2 separate regions of the Homo sapiens genome follow, and region 1 is linked to region 2. The links are contacts of gene promoters, found by promoter capture Hi-C in blood cells and fetal thymus (Javierre and others, 2016). All regions are on one chromosome and are shown on one strand. Each heading gives the region's core, a stretch centred on a gene start or on the middle of the fragment in contact. The rest is flanking DNA. Distances are from core to core; before and after follow the strand shown. Region 1 holds the start of PSMC6 (proteasome 26S subunit, ATPase 6). Region 2 overlaps LRR1 (leucine rich repeat protein 1).

The links. The method cuts DNA at HindIII sites, captures the fragments that hold promoters and counts their contacts. A CHiCAGO score of 5 or more calls a contact.
Region 1: the fragment with the promoter of PSMC6 here is called in contact with a fragment that was not itself captured in region 2 in 1 of 17 cell types (M0 macrophages); the score reaches 6.5 in M0 macrophages.

Annotation. Positions count from the first base shown.
Region 1 is chr14:52,702,549-52,708,575 of GRCh38, reverse strand. It overlaps PSMC6 (proteasome 26S subunit, ATPase 6), which reads right to left and starts at 1,376. Exons shown (of 14, transcript NM_002806.5): 1 at 1,272-1,376; 2 at 188-267; 3 at 54-93. The coding sequence starts at 1,356. RefSeq lists enhancers at 1,016-1,065, 1,086-1,335, 1,636-1,695, 1,716-1,825. The HindIII fragment of the contact is 4,351 bases long and covers 1-2,077 here.
Region 2 is chr14:49,605,544-49,611,514 of GRCh38, reverse strand. LRR1 (leucine rich repeat protein 1) reads right to left here. Exons shown (of 4, transcript NM_152329.4): 3 at 3,394-4,115. Among named protein-coding and RNA genes, the nearest start is that of LRR1, 9.6 kb to the right of the region's middle. The HindIII fragment of the contact is 276 bases long and covers 3,551-3,826 here.

The DNA.
Region 1 (6,027 bases), core at 127-2,626, 3.1 Mb before region 2:
GAGAGAGAGGTGGACTGTTTCTTTACTAATTAATAAGCTAATTCATCACTCACATTTTTCTTCAGTTAACTGTTTAAGCACTTCACCCACGATCTAAGGAAGAAAATAAAAAGCATTACTTTTTGGCAACAGCTAAATAAAAAAGCAAATTACCATCACCCCCTATTCCCCAAACTCCATCACCTACCTGCCCAACACTCTGTAGGGCCTTCAGATCATTTTCAGACTTTTCATACTGCTTGGTAAGTTCTTTTAATTGTTCCCTTACTGAAATAATACAATTTGAACATTTTTAATTGAACAGTAATCTTAGTGTGTTTAAGTCGCTACGTCTCACTTTACTGTTTACGTAAGTCTACTTCACTTTACCTAAGTTTCACATCCACTGTTTCAAACCATAAAAGAAATAATGCTGTTTGTAATGAGTAGGTGGCATGTATAACAACAAAATGTTACAGAGAAAGCACCATACTTTTACTTTGTTGATCGGCAATACTTGTTTAAGCACATCTTAAGTTATAGTCTTAGAAGATATTGACACCCTGACACTTAGGATTTGCGACTACAAATCCGAATGATAATCACTTAGACCCTTCCTCACCTCTTCACCTACCCACGTGGATTGTTCTCTGACATTCTACCCTAAATAAAGTCAACAAATGCAGTTCTCCACAGAATCATGTAATTATGGTCCTCCATTTAATTAAACTACTCATGCTTTTCAATGAAAATGCACTGGAAAAAAAAGTTAAGCACTCAGGAGGTAAGGGAAATTTGTATGCCTGATACAGTACAACACGAAACACAAGACGATATGGGTTATTATGACAACTGGAACACTTCTCTCTTAAGCTCCGCGGCCGTCTTTCGACTCCAAGAACAAGCCGACTCCCTGAGTCTCATCTCTTGTTTGAGCTTACTTGACTCAAGCGCCTTCCCCTCTCCAAGTCCCGGGACTCCACCAAGACTGCCCTTCTTGCACCCTAACCTGGGAAACATCCTCGGCCCACTTCCCCACTCCTCCTCTACTTCTTTTTCATTTTCACCTCAAGGCCGCCGATGTTCTGTCACCCGGGCTGGACTGGGCCATTTCTACACCCGAAGGAGTGCTGCTCCACAAGCTCAGGGCCGGATGACAAAGCGCCTTGTCCCTGGCCCTAGGCCTGGTCATCTCTAAGGCTCGGTTGCCGGGCTCGGCGAAAGGCTTCTGCTTTGTCAGAGGCAGAAGCGAGTCGAGGCACTTGATTAAATGGAAAGAAAGGTGCACTCACACTCCTTAAGACGGCCGTCGATCTCCTTGTGTTCAAGCAACTTCTTGCGGTAGTCCTGAAGCGCCTTATCTCTAGGGTCCGCCATGATGAGAAGCCGTCTCTCATAGGGGATGCCGGGAATGGCCATGGCCGTCCGGGCGGGGGAAGGGGCGGGGCGAGGGGCGAAACCCTGCCTGGAGGGGTGGGTTCGCCCATGAGCCCTCCCCTTCCGGTTGGCCCCGTCTTTCTACTCCACTTCCACCTCTATGTCTCGGTTCACCTAGAGCGCCGGCATACACTGAAAGAGGCCTCCACCTATACCGTTTCTTGCAAGCCGAGATAGGTAAAGCAGGACTCAGTTATCCCGGTCTTCCCCTGAGAGGCCTCAGTATTAAGTCACTGCTGTCCCGGAAGTATAAAAGGCTCTGTAATAAACTGAGATGGAAGTGAAGTAGGAAATGTGTAATACCTCAAAGGAGTTCCGATGGCCTGTCGACACAACACAGATGGCCTTTGTTATAACACAGTACTGTCCAAGACCTCCACGTGCTGGAGAAGTAGACAGTTTTATTCATCCATTCAGTCAGTGAATGAGGTATTAAAGGTAGATCTGCTTATCATTTGATAGGAAATAATAATAAAAAAAACTTCAGAGTTTAACAAATACTGTGAAGGAATTAAAACACGGTGAGAAGTATGGTGGGAAGAATTAATCTAGAACAGATATCTGAGATGAGAAGGAGCCAGCCTTGCAACAACTGAAGAAAACCTAAACAAACAGTGCAAGTCCTGGAGTGGAGTGGGGTGGGGGTTGTGGGTAGAAAGCTTGACTCACTTCCAGGAACAGAAAGGAGGCCAATGAGACCAGTAGGGGGTGGGTTGTAGAGATGTGGGGTACAAGATAAAGATGCTGAAGTAGGCTGAGGCAGGAACTTTGAAGTCTGATAGAACCTTCAGATTTATGTATTTATTTATTTACTTTTGAGATGGAGTCTTGCTCCTGCCGCACAGGCTGGAGCGGTGACGCGATCTCAGCTCACTGCAACCTCCACCTCCCGGGTTCAAGCAATTCTCCTTCCTCAGCCTCCGGAGTAGCTGGCATTACAGGTGTGCGCCACCACAACCGGCTAATTTTTGTATTTTTAGTAGAGACGGGGTTTCGCCATGTTGGCCATGCTGGTCTCGAACTGCTGACTTCAGGTGATCCACCCTCCTCAGCCTCCCAAAGTGCTAGGATTACAGGTGTGAGGCACTGCGCCCGGCCAGATTTTTTTTTTTTTTTTTTTTTTTTTGAGTCTGTGTCTCACTCTGTCACCCAGGCTGCAGTGTAGTGGTGCGATCTTGGCTCACTGCAACCTCTGCCTCCCGGGTTCAAGCGATTGTCGTGCCTCACCCTCCTGAGAAGCTGGGATTACAGGCGCCCGCCACCACGCCCGGCTCATTTTTGTATTTTCAGTAGGAATGGGGTTTCACCATGTTGGCCAGGCTGGTCTCCAACTACTGACCTCAAGTGATCCGCCCGCCTCAGCCTCCCAAAGTGTTGGGATTACAGGCGTGAGCCACGACGCCTGGCCAACTTTCAGATTTTTGTGATTTGGGGAAAATTACATACTCCCTCAATATCTCTGTAAAATGATCATAATAATTGCACTTATCTAATGGGGTTGTCATGAGTATTAAATAGGATAATGTGCCTAAACACAACATCTGCCACATGGCATGTACTCAATAGTGTTCTTTTGAATAGATATTTATTTTAAGGGTAGTAATGACTCCAATTTTTGCATTACAGGTCCTCATTGCTATACCTCTTGCTATCATTGTTCCTGGGGACAATTAATTGTTGTCCAAAAAACATGAGTAAAATTCTCCAAATAGATTCCATTTGGTCTCACCTTATCCAATGGCCATGAATGTTTGAGTTTAAATATATACATCCTAAATATACAAATAAAGTACAAATTTTTGTAAATTAATGACCCAAAGTCACATAAAGGATGCCTTCAAATTTATTAGGAACAATTCTCATGGGTATTGTGTGAATATTCCATTCTATTTTTCTTTTTTTTTTTTTTTTTTTTTTTTTTTTTTGAGTTGGAGTCTTGCTCTGTCGCCAGGCTGGAGTGCAGTGGCGCGATCTCGGCTCACTGCAACCTCCACCTCCCGGGTTCAAGTGATTCTCCTGCCTCAGCCTCCCGAACAGCTGGGATTACAGGCGCACACCACCACGCCCAGCTAATTTTTGTATTTTTAGTAGAGACAGGGTTTCACCATGTTGGTCAGGCTGGTCTCGATCTCCTGACCTCGTGATCCGCCCGCCTCGGCCTCCCAAAGTGCTGGGATTACAGGCATGAGCCACCGCGTTCGGCCAATTTTTCTAAATGTGACTGGGTTCTTGCAGTATACAATGAACAAGGAAGCTGTATGGGGCAGGGATAGTCCCTTCTCCCACTCAGTTGCAACTACTCTGGTCAAACTAGTCCATCCATACCAAAACATGTCACCTCTGACATCAAGAAGTAAAGAAGAGAGGACAAGGCAGAGAAAGAAAGCTCAGTATGGCTCAATTTAAAATATTTATGAGCACATACTGATAGGTTATTTTAACATTAATCACATCAATATTTTAAAGTCCCTTAACCCTTGTTCTTTTTCTTTTACCCATCTGGCAGCATTTCAACTTCAGAAGAATCTTCTATTTTCCCCATGCCTACACTAGCCCTGTTACTTTTTTGTTTGTTTGTTTGTTTTTTGTTTTGAGCAGGAGTCTCGCTCTGTCGCCCAGGCTGGAGTGCAGTGGTGCGATCTCGGCTTGCTGCAACCTCCGCCTCCCGGGATCAAGGGATTCTCCTGCTTCAGCTTCCAGAGTAGCTGGGACTACAGGTATGCGCCACCACACCCGACTAATTTTTGTATTTTTGGTAGAGATGGGGTTTCACCATGTTGGTCAGGCTGGTCTTAAATTCCTGAGCTCAGGTGATCCACCCGCCTTAGCCTCCCAAAGTGCTGGGATTACAGGTGTGAGCCACCGCGCCTGGCCGTTACGTTTTTATACATGCCTATAAGACTGTATTCCTCTCCATCTGAAAACGTAGCTCAACTTGTAATTATATATTCTTAAACGTGATTAAATGTTTAGAGTCTTTTCTCTGCAGTGGACTGTAACCCCTCGGAAAACAAGGACTATGACTATTTATTTCCCCTGATTGGATCCCCAGTGTCTAGCACAGTGTCTGAAATAAAAGAGATATATGTATATTGAATGAATGAATATCTCAGGCACTAAGATAGGTAAGCAGAGTTATAAAGAGGCTAAGAAATGTGACCAGTACTCAAGGAACTTAAAATATCATAAAGTGAAAACAGAAAAATACAAATGTGACCAAAAAATGAAAATTAGAACATATAGGGTGGAAGAGATAAAAGAAGGTAGGGCATATCTTAGTTTATTTCGGAGTCATTAAAAGTGATGTCATAACAAACGGTAATGAGATTGATGTAGACCTTCAAAAATCATGTAAGGATAGTTTCTCAATCTATTTTCCTATAACTTGGCACAGATGAGTGTGGTCATTTTAAAATATGTACACAAATTATTTGACACTTTCCACTTCAAGAGGTGGAGCATAATTCCCCTTCCTTGGACCTAGTGACTTGCTCTTGATAAATAAAGTGGAAGTGACAGTGCGCAACGATGGAGACTAGATCACAAAAAGTGTTGAGCCTTCCTTTTGACTCTCGCTTGGATAACTCCCTGTGGGAGAGCCAGTTGTCATGGCATGAGGACACATCAACAGATCTATGGAGAGACCTACATAGCAAGGAACAGCCATCCAGGAACTTAAGGCCTCCTGCCAACAGCCATATGAGTGAGCAGTTCCTGGCAGAGATCCTCCGGCTCTAGGCAAGCCTTTATTACTGCAGCCCTAGTATTGATTGCAACACCATGAGAGACTGAGTCACACAACTCAGTTCAGCTGCTCCTGAATTGCTGGTCCCTAAAAACCATGAGATGATAAATGTTTGTTGTTTGAAGCCACTTAGTTTTGGGGTAATTTGTTACACAGTGATCGATAACAAATACAACAAGAACAGATTTATTTTTAAGAGAAAAATTGGGAAACAGTGTCAAATAGGCAAGTAGCAACTACTTTTGCTCCCACATTGGCCACAACACTTAAGTTTTTAGAAATTTTTCATCCCAAATGTCTACTTCCAAATACCTATGAAAATGCACTTAAATTAGGCCAGGCGCAGTGGCTCACACCTATAATCCTAGCACTTTGGGAGGCTGAGGCGGGTGGATCACAAGGTCAGGAGATCAAGACCATCCTGGCTAACGTGGTGAAACCCCGTCTCTACTAAAAAATACAAAAAAATTAGCCGGGTGTGATAGCGGGCGCCTGTAGTCCCAGCTACTCTGGAGGCTGAGGCAGGAGAATGGCGTGAACCCAGGAGGTGGAGGTTGCAGTGAGCCGAGTTTGCGCAACTGCACTCCAGCCTGGGCGACAGAGTGAAACTCTATCTCAAAAAAAAAAAAAAAAAAAAGAAAAGAAAAGAAAAAAAGAAAGAAAATGCACTTAAATTAATGTGTCTGTGTCTAAGCAGTGAGATGTTGAGGTAGGAATAGAAGTTAGAGTTCAGGCCGGGCATGGTGGCTCATGCCTGTAATCCCAGCACTTTGGGAGGCCGAGGCAGGTGGATCATTTGAGGTCAGGAGTTCAAGACCAGTCTGACCAACATGGTGAAACCCCGTCTCTACTAAAAATACAAAAAA
Region 2 (5,971 bases), core at 2,439-4,938:
ACCTCTGGTGATTTTATTTAATTAACTGATTGACTGATTGAGACGGAGTCTCAATCTGCACTCCCAAGCTGGAGTGCAGTGGTGCCATCTCGGCTCACTGCAACCTCTGCCTCCTGGGTTCAAGTGATTCTCCTGCCTCAGCCTCCTGAGTAGCTGGGATTACAGGTGCGCACCACCATGCCCGGCTAATTTTTGTATTTTTAGTAGAGACGAGGTTTCACCATGTTGGTCAGTGTGGTCTCGAACTCCCGACCTTGTGATCCGCCTGCCTCGATCTCCCAAAGTGCTGGGGTTACAGGCGTGAGCCACCGCACCTGGCCTTCAGATGTTTTAAATGTTTCTCAGGTTATTCTAAATTTGAAGTAACGTCTGAGAACCATTGGTTTAGAGTAAGAGTTCTTACATTGGGGATGGCAAGGAGAGAGGACTGGACTGGGTTTCAGTGGGAGCCAGGTTCCTTTTATGCAAAATTCTGTGTACTCATGTGTACAGTTTTCCAGTTCCTTAACTTTGGTCAGTTTTAAGAGCCCCTCTCCCCTAAAAAAGTTCAGAATTTCTTATTTGAAATATGATCTTTCTACCATTTTATAGGTTCTCAGTAATACTTTGGTCCACATCTTAGCTTCCAGACATGCGTTCAAGAAGCCTGAACAGGCTGGGTGTGGTGGCTCATGTCTGTAATCTCAGCACTTTGGGAGGCTGAGGCAGGTGGATCACAAGGTTAGGAGTTTGAGACCAGCCTGGTCAACATAGTGAAACCCTGTCTCTACTAAAAATACAAAAATTTAGCCGGCCATGGTCATGGGCACCTGTAATCCCAGCTACTTGGGAGGCTGAGGCAGGAGAACTGCTTGAACCTGGGAGGCAGAGGTTGCAGTGAGCTGAGATCACGCCATTCCACTCCAGCCCGGGCAAGAGTGAAAGAGACTGTCTCAAAAAATAAAAAGCAACCTGAACAATGGCTGGGAGTGGTGGCTCATGCCTGTAATCCTAGCACTTTGGGAGGCCAAGCCAGGTGGATTGCTTGAGGCCAGGAGTTCAAAACCAGCCTGGCCAACGTGGTGAAACCCCATCTCTACTAAAAATACAAAAAAATAGCCAGCCGTGGTGGCGGGAGCCTGTAATCCCAGCTACTTGGGAGGCTGAGGCAGGAGAATCACTTGAACCCAGGAGGCACTCCAGCTTGCGCACTGCACTCCAGCCGCTTGCGCACTGCACTCCAGCCTGGGCAACAAGAGCAAAACTCCATCTCAAAAAAAAAAAAAAACCCTCAACAAAATGAATCTGGTGCTCAGGGTCCATGAAACCAAATGCAGTTAGTGTTCAGACAAGGAGAAGAGAACCAACAGCTACTGAATCCTACTATATGCCAAATGCTTTGGCATTACATTAGCTCATTTATCGTCACAACTCTATAAGGTGGGTATTATTCTTCCTGTTTCACAGCTGAGAAAATGAAATCAAAGAGGTTAAATAGGTCAGGTGTGGTGGCTCACGCCTGTAATCCCAGCACTTTGAGAGGCTCACACCTGTAATTCCAGCATTTTGAGAGACCAAGACAGGCAGATCACCTGAGGTCAGGAGTTGGGAGACCAGCCTGGTCAACATGGTGAAACCCCATCTCTGCTAAAAATACAAAAATTAGCTGTGTGTGGTGGCACATGCTTGTAATCCCAGCTACTCGGAAGGCTGAGGCAGGAGAACTCCTGGAACTCGGGAGGCAGAGGTTATAGTTGAGCCGAGATCATGCCACTGCACTCCAACCTGGGCGACAGAACAAGACTCCATCTCAAAAATTAAAAAAATAAGGCCAGGCGCGGTGGCTCACACCTGTAATCCCGGCACTTTGGGAGGCCAAAGTGGGCAGATCACAAGGTCAGGAGTTCAAGACCAGCCTGGACAACATAGTAAAACTCCGTCTCTACTAAAAATACAAAAAAAAATTAGCCAGGTGTGGTGGCGGGTGCCTGCAGTTTCAGCTACTTAGGAGGCTGAAGCAGGAGAATCGCTCGAACTCGGGAAGCAGAGGTTGCAGTGAGCCGAGATGGCGCCACTGCACTCCAGCCTGGGTGACACAGTGAGACTCTGTCTCAAACAAATAAATAAAATGAAAATACAAAAATGAGCCAGGCATGGCGGTGGGCGCCTGTAATCCCAGCTACTCAGGAGGCTGAGGCAGAAGAGTTGCTTGAGTCTGGGAGGCAGAAGTTGCAGTGAGCTGAGATTGGACCACTGCACTCGAGCCTGGGCAACAGAGTGAGACCCTGTCTCAAAAAAAAAAAAAAAAAAAAAAAAAAGGGCCAGGTGTGGTGGCTCAAGCCTGTAATTCCAGCACTTTGGGAGGCCAAGACGGGCGGATCACGAGGTCAGGAGATCGAGACCATCCTGGCTAACACGGTGAAACCCCGTCTCTACTAAAAATACAAAAAAAAAATTAGCCAGGCGTGTTGGCGGGCGCCTGTAGTCCCAGCTACTCAGTAGGCTGAGGCACGAGAATGGCGTGAACCTGGAAGGCGGAGCTTGCAGTGAGCCGAGATCGCTTCGCACCACTGCACTCCAGCCTGGGCGACAGAGTGAGACTCCATCTCAAAAAAAAAAAAAAAAAAAAAAAAAAAGAGGTTAAAGTCATACAAAGTGGTGAAGCCAGGAATCAAATCCAAGTCTGACTCCAAAGACCACCCTTCATCACTATGCGAACTCTCTAATTTTAGAGTACATCAAAATCACTTGGAAGACTCACTAAGACACAGCTGGACCCCACTCTCAGTTTCTGATTCAGTAGGTCTGGAATGTTAGAACCTGCATCTCTAGGAAGTTCCTAGGTAATGCAGATCCTGCTGGTCAGGGGAGCACACTTTGAGAAACAATGCCATTCATTCATTTAACTACTTATTGAGTGCTTAATATATGCTAGGAGCAGGGTATACATGGTTTAGATCCTAGGGAAATAGTGGAGAATAAAACAACATCCATGTGCTGATGGATCTTACATTCTAGTGGGGAAAACTGACAGTAAACAAAAAAAAAAGTTTAAAAATATATATAACAGGCAATGAGTCCTATGACCAAAAAAAAAAAAAAAAAAAAAAAAAAAAAAAAAAAAAAAAATCAAGCAATGTAAGGAGGGAAGGAATAAAATTTAGATAGAATGGACAGGTAAGACCTTTCTGGGATGACACTTCGGCAGAAAACTGAATGAAGTGAGGGAGTGAGCAATGAGACTTCCTGGAGAAAAATCATTCTAAGCAGAGGTAAGGAACAAGAAGACCATTATAGCAAAGGGTCAGACTGTGCATAGCACTGTAAGCAATGTTAGACTTTATTACTCTGAGTTTGATAGGAATATTAGAATGCTATCAAAGACACCACATTACATGACTATTAAAATCTTACCTATTATGTAATATGGTTCGTGCAGAAGATTCCAATAAAGTTAATGGTGCTTGCAGCTTTATTACTGGAAGGACTTTTGGTTGTTCAAAAGTATTTCCAAAAAGATCCAAGTATTCAAGGGATAAATTTCTAAATTCACTAGGCAAAAATGGAAGCTTATTTCGAGCTGCTGACAAAAAGCGAAGGTTTATTAGTTGTCCTATCTTGCAAGGAAATTGAATCAATTCATTATCGTCAAGTTTTAAATTCTTAAGTTCCTGGAGCTGGCAAAACTGCACAGGGAGTGCCTTGATTTTGTTCTTGCTGAGGTCCAAACTCCGAAGTGACTTCTGGAGTGTAGAATGACACAAGGCTACACTAAATGACTCCAAGTGATTGTCATTCAGGTTAAGTTCTTGAAGGTGTATGAGGTCTCCAATTGTAGCTGGAAGCTTTTTTATATGGTTGTGACTCAAGTCTAATTTCCTAAGGCTTTTTAAGCAAAGCATACGCATATCAACTCGGACAAGCCCACAGTAAGAAGTCTGAAGATGTTCCAAGGAATATGGAAAATTCTTACTTAGAGGATAGTCTTTTTTGGATGTGATAACCATTTTAGTTTTAAAGTTTTCAAATTCTGAAGTCTTCACTGGTGTGAGCGTTGAAACTGGTGTATCAACATTACAGCCTCTATGAGCCAGTCTCATAGCTGAAAGGAAACCTTTTAAACTGCTGGAAATGGCCTGAATAAATAAAAGTTGTAGAATTATAAATTCCACTGGAGATAATACATACATGCTAGTTCTTCCCATAACAAATTCTATGGCATTACTTATGAATGTGATACAATGATTTACTGAAATTGACTGTAAAACTTTTTTTTAGTACTTTATTTTGACTAAATTTCAAGTTTAAAAGTTTTTGAAAAAAATTACGTGGAGGGACACATTCTAAATAAAACTGTTCAAAGGGAAGTCATGCCAACACTTTGGGAGGCTGAGGTGGGAGGATCACCTGAGCCTAGGAAGTAGAGGCTGCAGTAAGCCATGATATCACTGCCCTCCAGCCTGGGCAACAGAGTGAGACTGTCTCAAAAAAAAAAAAAAATAACAAAAATAAAGGGAAATCATAAGAGTATAAAATAAGATAGGAAATGATTGACTATTCCACTTAAGATTTGAGTTTAGGTGGGGCGCAGTGGCTCACGCCTGTAATCCCAGCACTTTGGGAGGCCGAGGCAGGTGGATCACTTGAGGTCAGGAGTTTGAGACCAGCCTGGCCAACATGGTGAAGCCCTGTTTCTACTAAAAATACAAAAATTAGCTGGGCGTGGTAGTGCATGCCTGTAATCCCAGCTACTTTGGAGGCTGAGCAAGGAGAATCGCTTGAACCCGGGAGGCGGAGGTTGCAGTGAGCCGAGATTGTGCCACTGCACTCCAGGCTGGGCAACAGAGCAAGACTCTATCTGAAAAATTAAAAAAAAAAAAAAAAAATTTGAGTTTAAGGCCAGGTGTAGTGACTCACGCCTATAATCCCATAACATTGGGAGGCCAAGGCAGGCGGATTACTTGAGGTCAGGAGTTTCAGACCAGCCTGGCCAACATGGTGAAACCCCTTCTCTACTAATAATACAAAAATTAGCTGGGCAATGTGGCGCATGCCTGTAATCCCAGCTAGTCAGGAAGCTGAGGCAGGAGAATTGCTTGAACCTGGGAGGCAGAGGTTGCAGTGAGCCGAGATCGCGCCACTGCACTCCAGCCTGGGCGACACAAGTGAAACTCGGTCTCAAAACAAAACAAAACAAACAAACAAAAAAGGCTGGGACTGGTGGCTCACGCCTATAATCCTAGCACTTTGGGAGGCCAAGGTGGGTGGATCACCTGAGGTTAGGAGTTCAAGGCCAGCTTGGCCAACATGGTGAAACCCCGTCTCTACTAAAAATATAAAAATTAGTGGGGCATGGCGGCAGGCGCCTGTAATCCCAGCTGCTTGGTAGGCTGAGGCAGGAGAGTTGCTTGAAACTGGGAGGCAGAGGTTGCAGTAAGCCAAGATCGCAAGACTGCACGGCAGCCTGGGCGACAGAGCGACTCCATATAAAAAAAAAAAAAAGAAAAAAAAAAAAGCTAATTTTTGTTGGAACATGGAAGCTATGTAGAGCAAAAGATTGGAAATACAGTATGAGGACAGATTGTAAATGAGCTCAGATGCCAACGTAAAGTGGAGGGATTTTAAGTATGAAAGTTACATGACAAGAACTAAATACTATTTTGGTAGCACTGTACACAATGAACCAGAGTAGGGAAAAGTCTGGAGAAGACCTGGGTCAACTAGGTACAATAAAGCATACTGGTTCACAGACTTGGGATTCACCCATATAACAGCTGAACTATCAAATGGAAGGCAGGTATGACAGAAAACAGCAGAGGACTGAAATAAAGCCTTTATTTTGGGGATAGAAAAAAATGTTGCTGGAAGCAAGAGACAAAGAAGTGACTAAGAAAACTGAAGGTAAACCATAGTGCCCTATCATAGATACCAAGAAAAGAAAGAGTTTTATTAAGAAAAGGGTAATTATCATTGTCAAATTCTACAGAGTGCA